4 separate regions of the Homo sapiens genome follow, and regions 1, 2 and 4 are each linked to region 3. The links are contacts of gene promoters, found by promoter capture Hi-C in blood cells and fetal thymus (Javierre and others, 2016). All regions are on one chromosome and are shown on one strand. Each heading gives the region's core, a stretch centred on a gene start or on the middle of the fragment in contact. The rest is flanking DNA. Distances are from core to core; before and after follow the strand shown.

Region 1 (3,653 bases), core at 1,067-3,566, 410 kb after region 3:
GAGGAGGAGGGAGGAGGAAGGGGAGGAGGGAGAGGAGGAGGAAAAAGGAGGAAGGGAAGAAGAGGAGGAGGGGGAGAAGGAGGAGGAGGAGAAAGACAAAAGGAGAAAGAGAAGAAGATGGGTAAGGGGAAGGAGAAGGAAAAGAACCTACATGGTGCTTACTGAGAAGGTTTAGAGCATTTAGCTGGGTGGAGGCTCTAAGGGAGAATGTCAGAACATAAGAAAAGGCTATTTGATATGAGTTTATAGTAGACTGTGAAATTGATCTCTTTAATGTTCTTTGAAAGATGCAGGAAAGATTGCAATTCCTGTTTAATCACTTTTAACTGCTGTACTGGACTTCCCTGGATGTAACTCTATGCAGAGACTGGGCTGTGTAGGGTCCAAGGAGTTGTTCAGGTTACATAGTTCTTGTTTTCCATTTTGGGAAAATGATACATTCTCAATTTTTTTTTTTTTTTCCCGAGACGGAGTCTCGCTCTGTCGCTCAAGCTGGAGTGCAGTGGCGCCATCTCAGCTCAATGCAAGCTCCGCCTCTCGAGTTCACACCATTCTTCTGCCTCAGCCTCCCGAGTAGCTGGGACACAGGCGCCTGCCACCGCGCCCGGTAATTTTTTGTATTTTTTTAGTAGAGAACGGGGTTTCACCGTGTTAGCCAGGATGGTCTCAATCTCCTGACCTCGTGTCCGCCCTCCTCGGCCTCCTAAAGTGCTGGGATTACAGGCGTGAGCCACTGCGCCTGGCCCTCAAAATTCTTTTATAAAGAATTGCTTTGGGAGGCCGAGGCGGGTGGATCATGAGGTCAGGAGATCGAGACCATCCTGGCTAACAAGGTGAAACCCCGTCTCTACTAAAAATACAAAAAAAATTAGCCGGGCGCGGTGGCGGGCGCCTGTAGTCCCAGCTACTCGGGAGGCTGAGGCAGGAGAATGGCGTGAACCCGGGAAGCGGAGCTTGCAGTGAGCCGAGATTGCGCCACTGCAGTCCGCAGTCCCGCCTGGGCGACAGAGCGAGACTCCGTCTCAAAAAAAAAAAAAAAAAGAAAAGAATTGCTATTGAGGGCCATTTGACAAAAGACAAGTACACTTTGTGTTATCTTTAACAGAAGGTAGAGATAAAAATAAACCTGCTCCAACATGTTTCACAAGACCGAGCACACTAAACCCAATTAAAATTCTGGTCATAAAGAGCAGCAATTTGGCAGGCCATAGTGAAGAATTCATAGAGCAGTAGTTACAGAAATCATATGTCTTACAAACTTTGAGTACTTATGACCTTAAGCCAATTGCCTTTAGAGATGAAATTTTAGATCTTATAACTCCAAATTAGAGCTAATTCAATAAAACATAGTACTATAAGTCCCCTGTCTTCCAATTATGAATATAACTAGCATTTAATTTATTTCAGAAACAAATAATTTTAAATATTTTTTATGAATCCTACTCATATTTCACATTTCATATATTTTATTTTGCATTTTCCTCTATTAACTTCAAGGTTGTAGGTATTTTCCCAACTGTAGCAGCTTTAGAACTGAAACACAATACTATGTTTTTTTCACAGTGCACAAAACATCCAATAATTTGATGGATTTTAATTATTTTTGTTATAAGTTATTCATACCTATTTATAAAGAAGGCTCCTTAGGCCTTCTTTGCAAAAACATGTTTGATCTAATAGCATCCTCATATCAATGAAGAAATTACCATCTCAACCTGGTTTCCGTGACACGTGTCCATCAGCACATGGGATGGAGTCAAAGCAGCATATTGGTTCCCTCTGAACGAATCCCCTTCCGAGTCCCAGGAGGACACACATCAGTACACACTGAATGGGGAAGCTAGCAAAGACAAACATGATGTATTAACAAAGCCCTTTGTCTCTAGTACTCATGAGGCTGAGAAAGTTTCCATTTGAATTTCCATGGAAGCTTTGCGATTTCCTGGGAAACCCAGGATGCCTGAGTGAAGATAATGAACAAAGAAAATAACAACATGGAGAACGTAGAGAAGAATTTTGCTAAAGGAGAGTCTCGGTGTTAAGTCTAGAAATGCAAAGCTAATTCTAAGCCTCTTCTTTCTAACCTTGGGGATCCAGACCAGGCTCCATGCCTACAGGACTCTGGGGATGAGATCATTTGACAGGTCTGTTCCTGCTTGTGAAGGACCTATGATTCCAAGAATCATCTTGAAAGCCTAAAAAATATTTTCCCTCTGCAAGGTCATCCCAAAGTAGTCTTAAAATCAAAGCTGTGTCATGAAGGGTCAGTAGAAAAGAACAGTGAAAGATCTGATTTATCAGAAAAATGGGGAGGGCAAAAGGAAAAGCAGACAAGGCATAGCATTGAAATATTTTCTTGCTAAACGAATTTCAAAATCTCAGTAGTAAACACAGGCCTCCTTTTACATTCTACATGGATGTGTACCTTGAAACCCAGAATAAATGCAAGGTTTGTAAATAGTTTGTTTCTTAATCCATTAGGGAGTTTCCTGTTTAAGAAACAAAATGCTTTTCCATTAAGCAAAGAATCATTTTGGAAGATGCATGATTACACTTATATTTATTTTAGAAATCAGAATTTTCATATGTTGAGTTTTCCAGAGTAAATCTGAATTAAATAACATAGAAAATATTACCAATCTCTGAGCTAGGTTATGGTACATAACATTACAGAAGTATGTATACACAATAGATAAGCTTCTTATATGTTTTATACATATGTATCTGTAAAATCATATTTTAAATGCACCTTAAGGAGTAGCTATTACAGGAAGGAGTGATAGCAAGGCATTCTCAAATTCTGAAAGATGAACAATAAAATCATCACAGAATGAACTAGAATTCCTTGCTCTGATCCAGTCTTCTGGAAAGAACTCTCGATATTACCTTATGATTACTATTATCATTTTTTTTTCCTCTGTTGCCCAGGCTGGAGTGCAGTGGCACCATCTCGGCTCACTGCAAGCTCCGCCTCCCGGGTTCATGCCATTCTCCTGCCTCAGCCTCCCGAGTAGCTGGGACTACAGGTGCCCACCACCACACCCAGCTAATTTTTTGTATTTTTAGTAGAAACGGGGTTTCACCGTGTTAGCCAAGATGGTCTCGAATTTCTGACCTTGTGATCCACCTGCCTCGGCCTCCCAAAGTGCTGGGATTACAGGCGCGAGCCACGGCACCTGGCCCATTAGTATCATTAACAATGAGCTGATACCTTTTTGTTCCATTTCTCAGTATTCCTTCCCTTCTCAACCTCTGTGATCTAGCTGCCAACTCACTCACCTCACTAAAACTCTTCTTGCCATGTCTGAGAGATTTTCCTCTGGCCACATTTTCCTTCAGCTTTCTTCAATACTTGACACTTTTGATCAGCCCCTCTTTGAAACGCAAGCTACCTTGGCTTCCCTTGGGTCCTGGGTTTGGTCCTTGGTCCTCTGGTTTTCTCTCTTACTGTAAAGCAGGTCCTTCATTCTCTTGTCTTCAACCAGTATCTCTATAGAAGTACTCCCAAATTTTGATCTCTAACACCAACCTTTCCCACCTGATCTCTATTTAATTCCATATTCTAAACTTCCCATATGTTCCTACATTAAGATTCCACCATCACCTCAAGTTCAACACGTACAAAACTATCCCATAAACCCTATTCCTCATTT
Region 2 (3,574 bases), core at 1,008-3,507, 310 kb after region 3:
GCAAGGTGAGGATACAGAAAAAATAATAGAGGAAGAAAAATTTCAGAAGCCAAAATTTAAAAATAAAATAGCAAAATGAGGCCTCCAATTTTCAAGGCAGATAGATCCATATGCTTTAATAGCCCCTGAGGATATTTTAACATAGCACAATAGCTGACATTTATTAAGATAAATGAGAGTTGTCAAGTTGTTTCTTCAGGTTTAGAAAGTTAAAATAAAGCCTTGACACTTAAATTAGAAAGTTTCAGGTATTAGAAAAATCACCTGGGTGAAAATTTTCATTCTCTGACAATGTCAGATGAATGAGGCTTAATTGGGAATATTTCCTGCATTTAGAAATGTTATCAGTCCCATCCTCATAACTTTTTTCCAGTTAATAGCAATTTGGTGGGTTAGCCTAAAAAAAAAAACAAAAGTCAACGAATTTGTTCTGAAGCTGCCGATTACATGTTTCTTTCCCTCAGCCATTTCTTACCTGCTTCCTCATTGGTTCGCATTCCCACAAACCCCCATGCATTCTTGTGTAAGTCTAGTTGAAATGGTGCATCTTAAGTGTATTTTTTCCTGATGCTTCTCTTCCCTGTCTCCCTGCCTCCCGGCATAACTAATCACCCTTTTACCTGAATTTTATAGCATTTCCTTCACACTTCTAATATCACACCAAAAAAACTTGACTGTAGTGTTGTCTTCCCTGAACAGACTCCAGGATCATTCAGGGCAAGAAGCCCTGACTCTGCATCCCTGTATCCTCAGAACTGGAACATGGTAGATGCTCAAACTTCCTTAATAAATTCTGTTTAATTTTCTAGTTTGATTGTTAGAAACTATTTCAATGTTACATATATGGTAATAAAAGAATGTCCTTAAATGTAAGTATATTTTTTCCTTTTTAAAAAACTAATTCTGAATGTTAACCTCATTGAAAATTCATTTAACTGAAAATACTTTTAAAACACATTCAGTACTGCTTTTGGATAAATGACCATCTGGAAAGTAAAATATTGCAAACAGATTTAAGCATTTAATATTTTGTTCAACAGCAACTGGTGTTTGGATAGTCACATCGTTCAAATTACTAGGCTTGAGACAGAAAGAGCTGATCTTTCTAACACATCCCACTTGTGGAATTGTTTATGCTGACTCTCACCTCCTAAATCCCAGAGGTAATTAAATAATTCAACAGCCCTTTGGACAGCTTGTTTCATACTTAATGTCCATTGCTGTAATCAAATTAAATATGAAGACTAAGCTACGAAATGTACCTTAGGCTTTGATTTTTTAAGGAAATATTTCAAATTGGAGATATTTGTAATAAAAAGTCTCTTGTATACAAACCATATTTTCTTAACCTATTATTCTCCAAATTCCTCATTAATTCTGCACAAAAATGTATATATACCTTGACTGAGGATAGTGACTCAGAGAAGAATGCCAGAATATCATTGAGGATATGCAATTTTATTTAACAACATTACATTCAAAACCACACTGTCTCCTGCTTCTGGGAGCAAAGTGATTATCTTGTCTGTTGTTATGAATCCTGGAGGTACATTATAGAAAAACATGTGTAATGATTACACTGTTTAAATGAACACAATGTTGTAGAAGCTCCCCTTAAAAACACACACCTTATCTATTCTGAAATAACAGACTGAATTAGTGAGCTCTCCTGGCTCTCCACAAGTGCTCCCTGACCCTTGTTTCCATGTGCCTGATCCTGCCTCCTGAGACATCAGCCCATGTCTGTGGCACCAGAGTCTGTGGCTGTTACCATGGAAAGGGATGGCCTTGCAGCAACTCCATCTCACAATGGAATGGGGGAGGAATAACACATGAGCTGCCAAGAGCCTCATCCAGCCGTAAGTGAGTCTCAAGGCAATGAGAAACACTCTGACAGGTTCAAAATGAGAGCTGATGCTCATAGACTGACATAAGGAAGGCTGCTTACTTTATCAGTGTTCCACTGCCAGGTGGATATCAGATGACCATCTACAGGTCTCTGAAGTGTCCTCAGCCTTCTCAGTGAAACAGGAAAGTTGAGATCCAAACAAAGAAGCCAGAAGAGATTGACCCACCATGTGGCTCAGGAAAGGTCAGGTCAAGGGGTCCAGTTTGAACAAGGGGAATAACATTGAAAGTAAAGGAATACCTTGGTCTCTCCATGTTATGGAAAATAGCCAAACTCTACCTTAGAAGCTCCCTAACCCTGTTTCAAGCACAGCTCTGTGGCAGAAACAGACCTGGGATTCACCATGCCCACTTCTCTTCCTTCTAAGGCATACATTTATAACTACAATTCCCAGCCTTCTTTGCAGTTGAATGTGGTCATGTGGCTGAATTCCAGTCAATGTTGCCTCTGCCTGCAGATACCACTTACAGGTCTGGCCCACAAAATGGGGCCTCCACCTGCTCCTCCCATACTCCTCTCTTGATCCATGTCAATGCTCAGCTATGGCCCAGCTTAGAAAACAAAAGATGAAGATGACAGAATTTTCATCAGCCCAAGTCCCACCTGACTGGACCCTTCCCACCCCTGGTCGGACTTGCATAAGTAAGAAACAAACTTTCTCTTTTTTGAAACAAGGTCTCACTGTGCTGTCCAGGCTGGTCTCAAACTCCTGGTCTCAAGTAATCCTCCCACATCTGCTTCCTGAGTAGCTAGGACTACCATTGTCAGCCACCACTGTACTCAGCTTGAAATAAACTTTCTGATTTCAAGGTATTAAGGTTTCAGGATTTTGCAGCTAGGGTTACCTTTAATAAAAACAATGCACTTTATTTTGTAAAAGGCATTCACCTACAGCCTATTCACAATCAGCATTTGGGAGCCGTTCCTGGATTGGGAACCAGAGCCAGATATCTGGCGGGAAGCCTAGTTTAATTTTTTGGAGACTGAAAAAATATTTGGCAAGTTTCTTTTTGAAATTAGGTCACAATGTGTGTACCAAAAATGCACAAAAAGCTCCTAATTTATTTTGCCATGGAATGGAGATTTTTCTCTAAAACTGACATCTGACGACATTTCACATACCTGGGGAGGCTGTTGGGGAAAGCTGTTGTTTCAACTGCCATCTCCAAAGAAATATGAGTAAGTGCTCCTCAAAACCGTGTTGTTTCCTCCTCCCATGCAGCAAAAACACACAATACAATGGTAAAAATCCCTGGCAGGACATTAGCACATGCCATTCAGTGACAACCACAGTCTACAATTTGAAAGACCTGGGCAGCTATTGCTGTCTAGCTCTCAGAGCTAGGATGAGAAGGAGATGGCCAAAGCCTGACTTAAACTCAAATTCTGAAATTGAATTAAATTTATCTAATAAGGGATGTCACTTGGGTGCCTCCTCAGGCCTCTGCACTTACACAGCTCTTTCGATGGAAACAGTTTCTGTGGGAGAAAAGCCTGAGGAAACATAAAAATCCATAGTTCATCCTATGACACAACCCTTTGCTATCCACCTAAGTGACTTCCCAACATTCCAGCCTCCCAGCCTTTTGATAGACAGGTGCAGGACAAGAAGCAAAGACTTCAAATGGGAGGGGAAGACATGACTGCCACATCCCGAGTTACAGA
Region 3 (3,691 bases), core at 880-3,379:
CTTATTTTGTTCATGATGACTACCTCCCTGGCCCTTCGACACTTGCTACTCATTTGTTTTCTACCTACTTGTTTATAGAGTTTATATCTTTTACTAGAGAGTAAGCTGTCTGAGGGCTACACTTTTATTTCATTCGTCTTTGCATCTCCACAGCCCTAGAATAGAAGTGGGTTCTTAGTACATGGTCAGTAAGTGTTGGTTAAATTGAATTACATTGCCTTGTTGACTGTTATTAATCTTTAAAATTTTGGGATAATTTCCTACCAAACAAACATCTTTATTATGACTTATAGAAAAATGAATATTTCCTACCAAACAAACATCTTTATTATGACTTATAGAAAAATGAATAATGCTTATCAATAATCTTTAGTTCTTCTAGTCTCTAGATGATTGAAATGTTTCTCCCTATCCCTGGGTACCCACCCAGCTATGCCCCTTTGTGGAAAAAGGCCAAGGGAAAGTCTTTCTCCTTGGCTGAAATGCCTCCAGCAAGCAGATGGGTAAGTGGCCCAGTGTAGGTGGGGTCCACTTTCTACTCCTGAGGAGGAGTTGCCTCTCACAGACAGGACACATCCCCTCCTGCTGGAGAGGAACGGGGCAACAGCCTTCTAGACAGAAGAACTCTGTTTCTATGATTTTATTTTCCACTGTGCTCCACTCCAGAAGAACTAAGGTGACTTGTTAGTTAATATGATTCTCAAAAACCCTCTGTGACAGTTTTCTTAACCATTTTTCTCCCTCTAATGAGAACATGCTTTCCTGAGACCTAGAATGGCATACAATTATTTCACTGTGTAATCTCAAATTAGTGGGATGTTATTTACAAGATGATTTTACTAAACTGACAATTGTTATTTCTAACCTTTTAAAAGAAGGGAGAGTATAAAGATAACTCTTTGAACTATTTTGTGTCTTCTGATTAAACCCCTTTATGGACCAAGGAATATTTGCTTTGAAAACCTGTGTTAGGTTCCTTGGAGTAAATCTACCATAGCACAGAAAAATGATGGATGAAAGGTAAAAAGAAGAAAACTGCCCACCACACACATCTATCTTGGTTACCTCATTATCGTTTGGTGATTATCAGGGTAATTACTTCTTGCGTACTCATTCAAAAAACATGTTTACCATTTAAATGACTGCCTTGCTTGGAGTATAAAGGATATTTAGACATTTAGATGAGATCATTTTAATATCTTACATCACCATAGTGCAATTATCAAAACCAGGGAATTAACATGGGTACAGTACTAATACAATAGATCTTTTTGGAATTTCATTGTCTTTTTTTCTCTTCCAGGATCTTAAGCAGCATCCAACATTGCATTTAATTGTATGTTTTCTTAATCCACTCCAATATGTGACACTTCCTCAGTCTTTCCCTGTCTTTCATGATGTAGACACTTTTAAAAGTACTCATCAAGTATTCTGTAGAATGTCCCTTAATTTGGGTCTAAATCATCTTAAGGTTATAAAATTCTATAGTGCAGGTTGGTCTCCCTATGGTTTGAATATATTATTATAGCTATCAAGAAGAGAATATGTAAATGCAATTATAATATTAATATTTATTATGCCACAGTTAACATTTCCTCACTTTTTCATTCAACAAGTATTTATTGAGTCTACCGTGTGCCAGGTGTTGTACTTAGTTTATTGGGATGCAACAGTGAACAAAACTGGTAATTATTTCTCCCATCGTGAAACAGATATATGGGTAAAGAAAAAGGAATAACAAAAATAAGTTAAATATATAGTGTTTATAAATGTTAATTTTACAAATAAATAAAATGTAAAATAAAATACATAATGTTGACTGATGAATGTTAGAGAATCAATTTTATAAAGCAGGGATAGAGTATATGAAATGTCTAGGAATCAGTATTGAAATTTTAGATAGGGTGGCCAGATAAGATTCACTAAGAAAGGAGCTTTCAAGAAAAGACCTAAAGAAAGTGAAGGGGCTCACCAGGCGCTTATCTGGAGGGAGAGTGTTCCAGTTGCAGGGAGCAGTGAGGTAGGGGCTTGCTCAACATGAGCAAGGACAAGGAGGAAGCCAGTGTGGCCAGAGAAGAGAAGGTGAGGTTCATGGGGGCCAGATCATGTCATGTCAATCATAGGAAGGACCTAGGAAAGGCTAGTGAATAATTTTGAATACAGAAGTGACACAATCTGACTTTCTTTTAAAAGGAACACTCTGCTATTGTGCTAAGGATAGACTGCAGAGGCGAGGCTGAAACATGGGGGACCAGTTAGGAGGCTGTTCCCATAATCCAGGTGAGACATGACAGTGGTTTGGTCCAAGGTGGTGGTAGTGAGGATGGCGAGGAGTGGTTGAATTTTGGATAAATTTTGAAGGGGAAGCAATAGTATTTACTGGTGTAAAAGGATGTGTAGGGTGTGAGAGAAGGTGAAACCTCTAGGAGAACACCAAGGTCAGAGTATGGGGAGAATGGAGAGCCAATTCAACACATTTCAATATAGATTTAATGATTTTAAGTTTGGTAAACAGAGCACATGTGAACTGCAGCTTAATATAGTCAAGACTGACCAAATGTAGTCATAATTGAGAGACATTTCATCTATTTTGAGGTGTTAATCTGTTACGTCACTAAAGAATTTAAGATAAGAGGTTCAAACCCTAGGTCACATTGAAATTAAGCAATACACCAGGTAAAATTAACATGTTCAATGTCTCAGTTGTATAGTATAACCCCCAAAGAGGAGTGGAACTGGAGGTGGGAGCATCCCTCTAAATTGCGTATCCAGCAAGAAATAGGTGTAAGCCCAAAACTAGAGTTGATGTGGAGGAGGGAGCCCTAAGCTGTTGGCCACCACCTGAGATCCTTAAGCTCCAGGTCATTACCCTGGTGAGCATGTTCTCCTTTGAGCTATGGGCTGAGCCTTCCACTGAAAATCTAAACCTTCCCCATGCCTTTATGTCCAAATTCTACTTATTTTTCAGGACCCAGAACTCCAGCTTCAGAGTCCAGTGCTGCTAAGCCATAGTTTCTTAGCACTTCCCCTGGTGAGTTAAAGTATGTCTTGCTACATCATTAGAATTTTTTAGGTTCTCTTGCATTAACTCTGTGACTCTGAGAAACCTCCAATCTCTTGATTTCTTGTTTCCTTATGCACAAAATTAGGAACCTTGAGCTTCCTTCATCTCTATTATTTCATGATTCTATGGTTTCTTTGAAAGGAGAAGAAGTCATTCCATTTACTCTTCTCCTACCATTTTGAACTAACTGCTATTACCATATTGACCACACTATATTGTAACCGCATAGTTTATTTTTGGCTGTGACTTCCTCATTAGACTGCAACTATCCTGAGATCAGGGACTAAGTTTAAGTTTAATTTAAATTTTAAATTTTAGCCATTGCACTGGAGCCTGGCACAGGGTAAGTGAGTAATAATTGCTTGTTCAATCAGTAAGCATTCTCACCCTTACTAAGAAAGTGTCTCTAACCAGAGAGCATTTGTGGAACGTTGGTTGTTTTCCTCACTATCTTCAACAAGAGGTTTTTAACCACAACTGCGCATTTGAATATCCTGGGGGGATATAAATGGTATTGCTGACCTGATTCCTCACCACACCCCAGTGAAATCAGAATTTCTGGGAGTGGAATCCTGGCATCAGTATTTTTAAAAGATCCTCAGATAACTCTAATTGCAGTCAGGGTTG
Region 4 (3,509 bases), core at 440-2,939, 270 kb after region 3:
AGTGACGTCAAATATTTATTGCCCAGGCTAGCACCCTCCCTTCAGATGACGATTACTGGCAAGAAACAGAGGAGGTGGTGGCCATATTCCAAAAACCACTGCTATCCCATTTCACCAGGATGACTAAGGCAAGCTCCCCGTGGCCTCTAAAATCCACCTGCCTGATTTCAGGAACTGTTTTGTTTTGTTTTTTGAGACAGAGTCTCGCTCTATCACCCAGGCTGGAGTGCAGTGGCGCATCTCGGCTCACTGCAAGCTCCGCCTCCCGGGTTCACGCCATTCTCCTGCCTCAGCCTCCGAGTAGCTGGGACTACAGGCACCTGCCAGCACACTCGGCTAATTTTTTGTATTTTCAGTAGAGACAGGGTTTCACTGTGTTAGCCAGGATGGTCTCGATCTCCTGACCTTGTGATCCACCCGCCTCGGCCTCCCAAAGTGCTGGGATTACAGGCATGAGCCACCGTGCCCGGCCTTCAGGGACGTTGTATTTTATTTTTTCTTTTTCTTTTTTCCTGTTTTCTAATGCCTGCCCAATGTGACAAATTTGCTGGTTGGGATTTTTTTTTTATTTAGTAACTGGCTTGTAGGATATTTTCTTTCTGTATTTCTCTAAGTGATTTTGTATTAAAAACATTTGTATTAAAAGCCTTAAAAAATAAAAAGCAAACAAACCCAAAGCACCTCTGTTTTCTGTTGATGACAGTCCAGAGGGGTAAAAATCCAAACTCACTGCAACAGATCAGAAGCCTCATGAGCTGACAATTTGGCTGAGACCACTCTAAGCCCTGTGAGGTTCTCCACCAAATAGTTGAGTAGGTAAATAAATAAATATTGTGGCAGCCAGAGAAACACCATGTTTCCCTGAAGAATTCCACTTGTAGACTTGAGGAAGAGTTCAACAACTAGCATCTGGTAAAGTTAGCTAGAAGCTGCCATATCTTCTAAAAGTGAAAGCTCACTGGCAGATGCACCCTCATTGGCAGCCCAAGCCCAGTCTTCCTGGTACCTTTTTAGACCCCTGCGTTGGTGGCTCCATGCCTCCTGATGGGAGGCTGAGCTGCTATGAGAATAAGAGGGCCTGTGGAAGCGACCACATTGGCTAAATATCAGCCCCTCCAGCTCTTCTCGACCTCGGGCACACTGATGTATGGGATAACTAACCAGCTTTAAAGAAAAGACCTAAAAAAGGACTTGGTAGGTATGTGGGTCCCTGATTTCCCATTGATACTTTGACTACAGGCTGGAACAGTCAGGGTGTCAGGGAAGGGCTCACCCATTCCTTAATGAGTAAAGAAGCATGGCATTCTCTGCTGGGAGAATTTTATTTTGCTGAATACTGTAGATCCTGCTAACTACCTACCCTTCTGATGGATGTTCACACAGCTAAAGAGCTCCTCCTGCTGAATTCTCATCAAGAAACTGGCTGCAGAAAGCAGCTCCTCCTTATAAGCTCTGCATGTAGCCCTCTGTCAGCTACATAATGTTTCTAATTCCTACCCAAGAACAAACCACTAAAAATTAATTATTGCTTGAAGGGAACAAAGAGAGAAAATACCAAGTATTTAATTCCTAAAATTATTTTGAGTAAAACTGGAGATAAGAAGGCTAGCCTTGAGCAATATCTTTGTCCCCAAATGTAGAATGTATTAGAGTTCTCTAGAGAACCAGAACTAATAGGAGGTAAACATAAAGAGATCATTACAAGGAATTTGTTCATATGATTATAGAGGCTTAAAAGTCCCATAATCGGTAGTCTGCAAGCTGGAGACTCAGGAAAGTTGGTGGTGTTGTTCCAGTACGAGTCTGAAGGCCTGAGGACCAGGAGAGCCAATGGTATATGTCACTGTCTGAGGGCAGAAGGCCAACGTCCCAGCTCAATCAATTGAATCAATTGGGCAAAGAGAGTGAATTCTGCCTTCCTCCATCTTTTGTTCTATTCAGGTCCTCAACTGATTGGATGATGGCCACTCACATCAGGAAGGGCAATCTGCTTCACACAGTCCTCTGGTACAAATGCTGATCTCATTGGAAACACCCTTACAGACACACCCAGAAATAACATTGAAACAAACATCTGGGCACCCTGTGGCCCTGTCAAGTTGACATATAAAATTAACCATCGCATACAATTTGTTGCATTTTTTTGTTACATAGAGTGTTAATAATACTGGATAAGAACTTAGAATAAATGCTGTCATTTAAAGATGGGGAAACTGAGGTCCCCAGAGAGGTTAAGGGGCTTGACTGAGACTCCCACTGACAATTGGATAGACCTGGAAGTAAAACCCAGATGAACTATGCTATTTTCTTTCCTACTGACCACTGGACAGTAATTGCTCTTATTACCTGGATGATTCATAACCCATTTCCAGTGTGTTTAACATTTATAACTAAGTAGTTAAAACTAGGAAGAGTTTCACTTACAGATGGTGATTTTTTGTGTGTTTTTTTAGACCCTCTTCTTCCCATTGTCTTATTACACCCTCACTCCCTCATCTCGGAAACACCCTGGTTAACTCACTGGCCATCTTGATAATGGTTCTGTTGCCCTGAGAGTGAAATCAGGGCTGAGCTTCTTAAGAAGAAAAGTGCTGAGTCAATTTCTACCCAATTTTGTGTCAGGGCCTTGTGACCAGGGTCCCTGCCCCTCTTAGACAGCAACACTGCCTGTTGACCGCAGTGACTTGAGGCATCCGACATTCAGATCTTCTTCCAGGCTTTTCTTTCTCTCCAGAGGAGAAGCCTTTTCTAAACACTTGCCAGATGCTTTCAATGAGCCTTACATGTCTTTCCCTAGAAGCAAAATGTTTAAGGTCCACAAGTGAATGTAATACCCACACTAGCTTCTGAAAGAAACTGCCAGATGACAGAAGGACCTTTACATCCAGAGGTGTTAGCAAAGTTGTGTGGGGCCACATGGGTAGATTGGAACTGCTCTAGCTTAAAAGGCATTAGATGCCCTGGGCTCTCTCCATGGCTAGCAAAACCCAGCTCAGAGAGTATTCTCTGCCTGCAATATTCCCCTGGGACTTTCCAGGACCTATCTCAGTCCTTTAGCCTACGGTTTTATCCCCTTGTCTTGTCTACTCTGTGACTTCATGCTGACTACCTCCAATTATCTAGAAAGGCCCCTATCTACTCTCAGTGGCCACTTGCCACTAACCACTGACCTGGGAATAAGTAACCAATCATGTCACCATCCTCATTCCCTTTTTTAAAATGCCGTTTGATAGCCGCATGTGGTGGCTCGCGCCTGTAATCCCAGCATTTTGGAAGGCCGAGGAGGGTGGATTGCTTAAGGTCAGGAGTTTGAGACCAGCCTGGCCAACATGGCGAAACCCTGTCTCCAAAAAAAGTACAAAAATTAGCTGGGTGTGGTGGTGAATGCCTGTAGTCCCCGCTACTCAGGAGGCTGAGGCACGAGAATTGCTTGAGCCTGAGAGGCAGAGGTTGCAGTGAGCTCAGATTGCACCATGGCATTCCAGCCTGGGCAACAAAGCAAGACTCTG

What was found. The method cuts DNA at HindIII sites, captures the fragments that hold promoters and counts their contacts. A CHiCAGO score of 5 or more calls a contact.
Region 1: a contact is called between a fragment that was not itself captured here and the fragment with the promoter of KCNAB1-AS1 in region 3, in 1 of 17 cell types (megakaryocytes). The highest score is 5.2, in megakaryocytes.
Region 2: a contact is called between a fragment that was not itself captured here and the fragment with the promoter of KCNAB1-AS1 in region 3, in 1 of 17 cell types (M0 macrophages). The highest score is 5.1, in M0 macrophages.
Region 4: a fragment that was not itself captured here is called in contact with the fragment with the promoter of KCNAB1-AS1 in region 3 in 6 of 17 cell types (endothelial precursors, M1 macrophages, megakaryocytes and 3 more); the score reaches 14.2 in endothelial precursors.

What each region holds. Positions count from the first base shown.
Region 1 is chr3:156,031,766-156,035,418 of GRCh38, reverse strand. It overlaps the pseudogene VN2R1P. Among named protein-coding and RNA genes, the nearest start is that of KCNAB1, 87 kb to the left of the region's middle. The HindIII fragment of the contact is 767 bases long and covers 1,933-2,699 here.
Region 2 is chr3:156,130,747-156,134,320 of GRCh38, reverse strand. All of the region lies in intron 1 of KCNAB1 (potassium voltage-gated channel subfamily A regulatory beta subunit 1), which reads right to left. Among named protein-coding and RNA genes, the nearest start is that of KCNAB1, 12 kb to the right of the region's middle. The HindIII fragment of the contact is 4,522 bases long and covers 1-3,574 here.
Region 3 is chr3:156,445,374-156,449,064 of GRCh38, reverse strand. KCNAB1-AS1 (KCNAB1 antisense RNA 1) reads left to right here and starts at 2,129. Exons shown (of 3, transcript NR_046618.2): 1 at 2,129-2,280; 2 at 2,969-3,031. All of the region lies in intron 2 of KCNAB1 (potassium voltage-gated channel subfamily A regulatory beta subunit 1), which reads right to left. The HindIII fragment of the contact is 8,289 bases long and covers 1-3,691 here.
Region 4 is chr3:156,172,302-156,175,810 of GRCh38, reverse strand. The region is part of intron 1 of KCNAB1 (potassium voltage-gated channel subfamily A regulatory beta subunit 1); the gene reads right to left. It also overlaps the pseudogene SNRNP40P1. Among named protein-coding and RNA genes, the nearest start is that of KCNAB1, 53 kb to the right of the region's middle. The HindIII fragment of the contact is 4,531 bases long and covers 1-3,509 here.